Regions from separate parts of the Homo sapiens genome. Here region 1 is linked to region 2. The links are contacts of gene promoters, found by promoter capture Hi-C in blood cells and fetal thymus (Javierre and others, 2016). All regions are on one chromosome and are shown on one strand. The core of a region is centred on a gene start or on the middle of the fragment in contact, and the rest is flanking DNA. Distances in the headings are between cores, read along the strand shown.

Region 1 (2,700 bases), core at 201-2,700, 480 kb after region 2:
TAATTTAAATTCAGTGCCTCAAGATATTGTTTTTAACCTTCCTTTCTGTCTTCCCTTTCACAAGGGTAACTTAACTCCCAGTGCTCCCAGCCCCTTCCATCCTGTTGCATCAGTTTCAACTATGGTTGTTCTAGCCTCATTGTCAGAGCACGTGATGAAAGATCATTAGCATCTGATGCAAGGCTGTGCTCCCTCAGTGCGCTCCAGTTGGCTCCGTGCCCCCATGTGGAAACTGGGCTGCCTGGCGGTGGACCATGTGCCAGTCCCAGGAGCCCCAAAGATTCTGACTTTGAAAGCAATCTTCAGGGCTTTACCTGGGAAGCAGAAGAACTCTGGAGAACTCTGTACACAGGTGAGTTCACTAGGACGGTGAGCAAAGTAGAGGTAATGTACACTCCAGGAGGAAGAAAAAACCAAAACAGAAACCCCAGCCTCCACTGACCAACCTTCCTCTCCTGATTTCCCACTGAAAAGGCTGGATTTTCCACAGACAACCTGGAAGTTCTTGCCTGGGGAATGTACAGTGTAGAGACTTGGCACTTTCATTTTCTCATGTAATTATGCATTGAAAATGAAGCTTAATATTGAGCCAATAAGGAGAAGTTGAGTTCAAAACTTAACACCTTCCTACATCTTATGCCCTTACTCATCCTGGCTCCATCTCACCAGTATCTATTTTACTTTGGGGAAGGAAGCAGTTAAATTTCAATATGAAACAACAGCTCCCAGAACTTTCATTACCGCCAGTAATTACTGCTCAGGGAAAGGATAAATAATAATAATAATAATAATAATAAAGCATAACTCCAATTCCCCATAATCTGCCTGCTAGTTCAAGTGGCCAACATAATATTTACAATATATTTTAAGTCAAGCATGAAAAAGTTGAGAATACCAACAAACTTTATTATTTGGAGTGCTGACAAAGAACATAATAAAGCAATTAAACACCATGTCAGACCGGGTTCATTACACAAATATGCCCATCCTCCTGGAGGGCTGTTGGGCAGAATAAGTGAGGTAATGTATCTAGGGTGCTCTGCACAGTGCCTGGCAAGTGGTAAAGCCTTGATAAATAGCAGCTAGTGCTATTCTTAGCACAACAGTGGGGCCCACATGGAAACTCCACCCAGTAGTAGGCAAAGGGAGGAAAAGATATGGGAAAGAATGCACAGTAAGAGGTGAGGAGGGAGAGAAAGAGAAGAAGAAAAAGAGAGACCAACAATCAGACAGACAAGTGTCACAAGTTTCCAGCAGGATCACTTCTACCCTGGATGCATAATCCAAAATGACCATTTTATCTGATTGTTAATGCCTCCAATTGACCTAAAATTGTTATACTTTTTATTTATGTCAGAAAACATTTTCCAACTGCGGAAATGCAGTTAGCTCTATTGATTTTCTTTTCTTTACAAAAAGGAAAGACCCAGGTGATGATTTTTTTCCACTCTTCATCCCTGAGATTCATTTCTGGTTTTATGGTTTCATGGACCATTTACCTATCTGGAATATCTGGAAAGTGTGCCTGATTGGGTATAGCTTTCCTTTCCTGGTCAGCAACCAAGACCTCCCTCGATTGCCATAGTGAAATGAGTGAAATCTGCACCACCACGCCTGCCCTTTCAATGTGCTGTATTAAAATAAATTGATGACGCTCATCACCAATCTTTTGCTGGAGAGAGGGACATCAACATTAATATTCTTGTTTGCTTATTTGTGTCCTGTATTGGTCCATGGAGAATTTGAAGAGCTTTTCAACAAGAACACATGCAATACTATTGTAAGTTAGAATAAAGAATCAGCAGCAACAGGGGCAAAATAAATAAAAATAGAAAGTTGAGACTGAGAAAAGCCCACTGTGACTGAAATTTAGCAGGAGAGAGAAGTATCCAGGCAGCCTGAGCAGCAACCTGGGAGCCAGGGCCCAGGAGGCCAACCTGGGGATTGGAGAGAAGGAAACAGCAGGAGCCTCTGGAATCATCAGGAAGACTGCAGGGTGGAGCACACAGAGGGGAGGTCGAAAAGCCTGAGAGTCTAGACAGAGACAGCCAGTGAGCCAGAGATACCCAACTTTGGTCTTGTTATTGCAACTTAACTCCGCCCCTCATCCCCCTTTAGTGTGGCCCCAGGGAAATACAGATTACTAGTTTCCAGTCAAGAACTCAGTGCGTAGGGAGCCTGAGATGCTGGTTAAGGCAGATCCAGATGCTCTTGAGATCAGATCAGCGAGTGGCAAAGTGAGCATCTGCAGGGTCTCCCATGAGCAAAACCAGGAATTTCCTGGAGAAACAGAGTCTGCTCTAGCATGGCAACAAATGAAGGCTAAGCTTGCAGCATTCTATACCATGGGTCATGGCTCTGATATTCTTGGCATGGAAAATACTAAGTCGCGTCTTACCAGTCATACAGCAAGGTCACAAAAAAAAGTCTCAGAAATACCCTCATGAGCAACAGCTTCCCAGTGAATCTGCCTGGATGAATTAGCTGCACAGTGTGTCCCCAGAGGAACTAGATGAAGAAGCCTGCAGCAGGCGGGTACTAGATATGAGGCAATCCATTTTGGAGGACATCTGCCAAAAGAATAATTTTCAATTTAAGATGGTTAATATTGAATCACTCTTTAAAAAAGAAAAACAATTAGCTAGCAGGACCACCTATGTGCTGTAGGCCCCTCCTGGTCCCTGCCATGAGGCTACAGAT
Region 2 (4,400 bases), core at 854-3,353:
TCCACTAAACTGATAAGGACATGTAACGAGGTTAAGAAAGTAGAGACATGCCTGCTATCTCACTGAAGGAGAAAAAAAATTTCTATATGCAGTTATATTATAGGCCAACCAATATTTGTCAGGGTTTCTCTCCACAATTCCAACTGGACTAGGAGAAGGTAAATTAGACCTATTTGTGACTCAGCTAATACATTACTTTTAATGGCTACTGTTATATCTATGGAGTAATCCAAACATTATCTGATTTGTTCTGGTTTTTTGTGTGTTTGTTTGTTTTGAGACACAGTCTCACTCTGTTACCCAGGCTGGAGTGCAGTGGCATGATCTCGGCTCACTGGAACCTCTACCTCCTGGGCTCAAGTGATCCTCTCAACTCAGCCCCGCAAGTAGCTGGGACTACAGGTGCTTGCCACCATGCCCAGCTAACTTCTGTATTTTTTGTAGAAACAAGGTTTCACCATGTTGCCCAGGCTGGTCTCAAACTCCTGAGCTCAAGTGATCCACCCGCATCGGCCTCCCAAAGTACTGGGATTACAGGCGTGAGATACCGTGCCCTGCCTGATTTGTTCTGTTTTTTAACAGCATTATTAATGGCACATACTTATTAAGATACTTACATAAGAACAACCGTAAGAAATTCCTACCTGAACTCACCACGATAGAACTTCTGTAAGGCTTCTGGAAAGGAATGTGTATATCGAACGGGCAGGCATAAATGACCCTCAGACCTATATTTTAACAGGAATTTTTTGGTGATATAAAGAGGAAAAGAAAAAAGGTGAAGCAAAAAAATTTAATCAAAAGGTATCACTAAGCTATAAAAATAAGAAATGAAATTCTAAAAATGTCTACCCTATATTCCATTTTTTGCCACAAAATTGTGTTCTTTAAATAAAAACAAAAAAGACCAGATAGAATTAGTAGTCTACATCCAGCTTTAATGCCATAATACATAATAATATGTGAGTTTCTACGTTACAATGAAACTAAAAATAGCAGCAAATCTGCTACTAATTACCCTGTAAAGTTATTTAATGGTACAGTGTTGTTCAAATCATTATTTAACTACTAACCTTCCAATTTTTATTCTAACCTTTAAATTATTTAACTATTAACTTTGGGCAAGTCACTTTAGCATCAGCTTCCTCATCTCCAAAATCAGGATAAACCAGCAATCTCAAAAGGAATCAAAATATTTATGTGAAATGTTTTGAACCATAATCCTTTCTGAAATGTCATTTAAGATATCCTAAGTCACTAAAAAAGAACTGAGAAAGCTTAATCCAATGTAATCCTTCATTTATTCAAAAATACATAAATAATGAAACTCCTTTAAGGAGTTCATAGCTTGATGTGGAAGACAAATTAAAACAAACCATTGCAAATTATAAGGTGGTAAGATTGCCTATTGGTTGGTGTAGATGAGAGTATGTGGCACCTAAAGATGTCCAGAAGGCTCAGTCATCATCATTTAATGATACTCCAATCTTGAAGAAAAGGCTGAGGGTAGGCTTAGCAAAACAAACTCCTGATAATAAATGTAAATCAACTTGTAAGCGTGAAGGGCACAGAAAAGTGTTTTTACAAAGTTGTGAATAGTCAACTTCTTTATCTAAGCAGGTCAACACTGAGGTTAAGAAAGCGTAAGGCCTAGGTTTTTAAATTTTTATATTCATTGTAATAGTTCACACAATGTTAAGTATATAAAAGGTATCAACAGTCATTTGATAGAATAATACCTGCTGAGGTCAACTGCAAGTCTAAAACCCTTGCAGAGAGAAGACTTTCTCATGAGGTTACAGTCAGATATCAGCTAGGGCGGCAGGCATCTGAAGGCTTGACTTGGACTAGCACGACCACTTCCAGGGTTGCTCACTCACATGGCTGGCAAATTGGTGCTGGCCATTGGCAGGAGGCCTCAATCACCCTCTACGTGAGCCTCTCCACAGAGCTGCTTGTGAGTATCCTCACATCATGGTGGCTGTCCTACCCCACAATGAACAATCCTAAAGACCAATACAGATGCTGCAATACCATTTATGACCTGGCCTTGGAACCTACACATTCTCACATCATATTCTACTGGTCACACAGGCCATCCTTGATTGAATATTGGGGGGCAGGGAGGAGTACATTAAAGGGTACCTAAATACTAGGAAGCTACCTTGGAGGCTGACTACCACATGCCCTCTATCCCATTTTGAATATTAAGCTTTCAAATGTTGTAATTATTTACCAGGCTCGGTAGAGTGGCTATAGAATACAGAAGAGATGGATAGAAATTACACATTTGATTTAGATGAGTCCATGTGAGTGGGCCATCTTGAAAGTGGATCCTCCAGCCCAAGTCAAGCCTTCAGATGCCTACAGACCAAGCTGACATCTACTTATCCTCAGGAGAGATCTCAAGCCAAAACCACCCAGCCAAACTGCTCCTGAACTCCGACATGCACAACCCGTAAGAAATAATACACTGTTACTGTCATAAGCCTCTAAGTTTTGGGGTGATTAGTTATGCAGCATTTGACAACTAATAAATAGGAGAAAAAACTTAAGTTGAACATTAACTTCTGGGCTTTTTTTAAGGACTGAGACACCACTATATTTAAGATAAAGAAATCAGACAACTTGAAGCATACACAAAACCAGAAGGCAATTTAACATATCTGCCTGGAGGCAAGAAGAGAAACCAAAGAACTTCTAACACCTGTTCTTCTAGCTAGAAAATAGAGAAGAGATGACAATATTAACAATTGCTTGCCAGCTTCAAATTCCCACAAATTTATGAATATGAAGCCAGTTTCCAAAAGAAAATATAGTTCAATAAACTGTGTAACATATGATCACTAAAGTGATCTTTTACCTTAATGATATAAAAATAAGCCATTAAGAAGTTCTAAAACCCAAATGCATCAACACTGATGGCAATTAAAAATTAATTACTGAACCAATGATCTCTATTATTTACATTCAGGGAATATTTACTCAGCTAGACTGGGGTTCTATCCCTATTCCCTAAAATCACTGAATCAATCATTCATTTTTCAATTCATTTATTGCCTACCAGCTATGTATAAAACTATGCTAGTGACAGAGAAATTAAAATACAAGGTCCTATACTCAAGGAATTTATAGTCTAATGAAAGAGAAAAAGAAACAGAAAATAAATATATAGGGATAAGTGCTTTCTGTAGAGGGAATTACAACCCAGGAGAAACACCAGTCTTGAACAAACAAGAAACACAGAAGTGAGTAAGTGGTATAAGGGAACTTTTGACAAAAGCACATACAAAGGCATGGGTGGGTGGGTTAGGGGGACATAGGCCTTCTGGAGAACTCTTTCACCTACTCTCAAATCACGCCTTGGGTCATCATATCAACAAAGCTCCCCACCAGAGTAAAAGCATCCCTGTGTGAGCCTCTAACCAGCATGTTGGTGGACACTCATATAGTTACATTTTGCAGTTAAGAACAGCCTTTTAGAAAGGATCCCAGGCTGATCCTAGAAAAGTTTCCAAAAATATATTTTTTAAGCTAAAGAATGTGTCATGCCTGTGGACATATGAGGACAGGTGAAACTAGAAAAGCAAACAGGCAAGAGACAGTGAAAGATAATATGTATTATGCTAAGGAATTTACAATGTATCCTGAAGGTCATGGGAAACTCTAAAAGATTTAATAAGAAGTGGATATAATCAATTAGATCTGCACTTTAGAAAGAAGACTAAGGCAATGTGTAAAGGATGAGTTAGAAGGAGAGAGACTGTAAGCTAGTTCAGTAATTTAAACAAACTATAAAGGGCTGAGCTATTTTTAGTGGCAGCGAGGATGGCAAGAGATGGACTCAAAAGTAAGTTCCCTAGAACTTAGGACCAATTTGATGATAGAGTGAGGGAGAGGTAGTTACAGCTTCAGCACAGATGATTTCATTCATCAAGAATGATGGGAGAGAGGAAAGGAGAGTTTATTGGTACATGTTACAATTTTAATACCACTGGATATATCCAAAGTAGAGGCCAGTGTGGCTAGAATAGAATGAAGGGAAAAATAATAGGCAATAAGGACAGAACTGGTAAAGGGCCAGATAATGTACAGCCTGTATGTCACATTTAAGGTGACCAACTGTTCCCTGCTTTGCCTGGGACTGACATTCTCCTGGGACACAGGACTTTCAGTGCTAAAACCAGGAAAGTTCCAAGAAAACCAGGAGAAGTTTGTCACCCTATTCATAGTAAAAAGGTAGATTTTACCCTAAGTTAGATGGGGAGCCACGACAAAAAAAAAATCTAGGCAGAGAAGTTACATAATATTATCAAACTTCCATAAAATAATCACGCTGGCTGCAGTGGGGAGAAGAACTAAGAAACTATAAGGGTAAGAATGGAAGCAAGAAGATCAGT

Evidence for each region. Contacts are between HindIII fragments. The CHiCAGO score rates a contact against its expected background, and 5 or more counts as called.
Region 1: a fragment that was not itself captured here is called in contact with the fragment with the promoter of NADK2-AS1 in region 2 in 1 of 17 cell types (megakaryocytes); the score reaches 5.5 in megakaryocytes.

Annotation. Positions count from the first base shown.
Region 1 is chr5:36,703,282-36,705,981 of GRCh38, forward strand. All of the region lies in intron 1 of SLC1A3-AS1 (SLC1A3 antisense RNA 1), which reads right to left. Among named protein-coding and RNA genes, the nearest start is that of SLC1A3-AS1, 21 kb to the right of the region's middle. The HindIII fragment of the contact is 1,750 bases long and covers 576-2,325 here.
Region 2 is chr5:36,218,952-36,223,351 of GRCh38, forward strand. It overlaps NADK2-AS1 (NADK2 antisense RNA 1), which reads left to right and starts at 2,104. Exons shown (of 2, transcript NR_170324.1): 1 at 2,104-2,458; 2 at 2,587-2,950. It overlaps NADK2 (NAD kinase 2, mitochondrial), which reads right to left. Exons shown (of 12, transcript NM_001085411.3): 5 at 645-728. The HindIII fragment of the contact is 935 bases long and covers 1,276-2,210 here.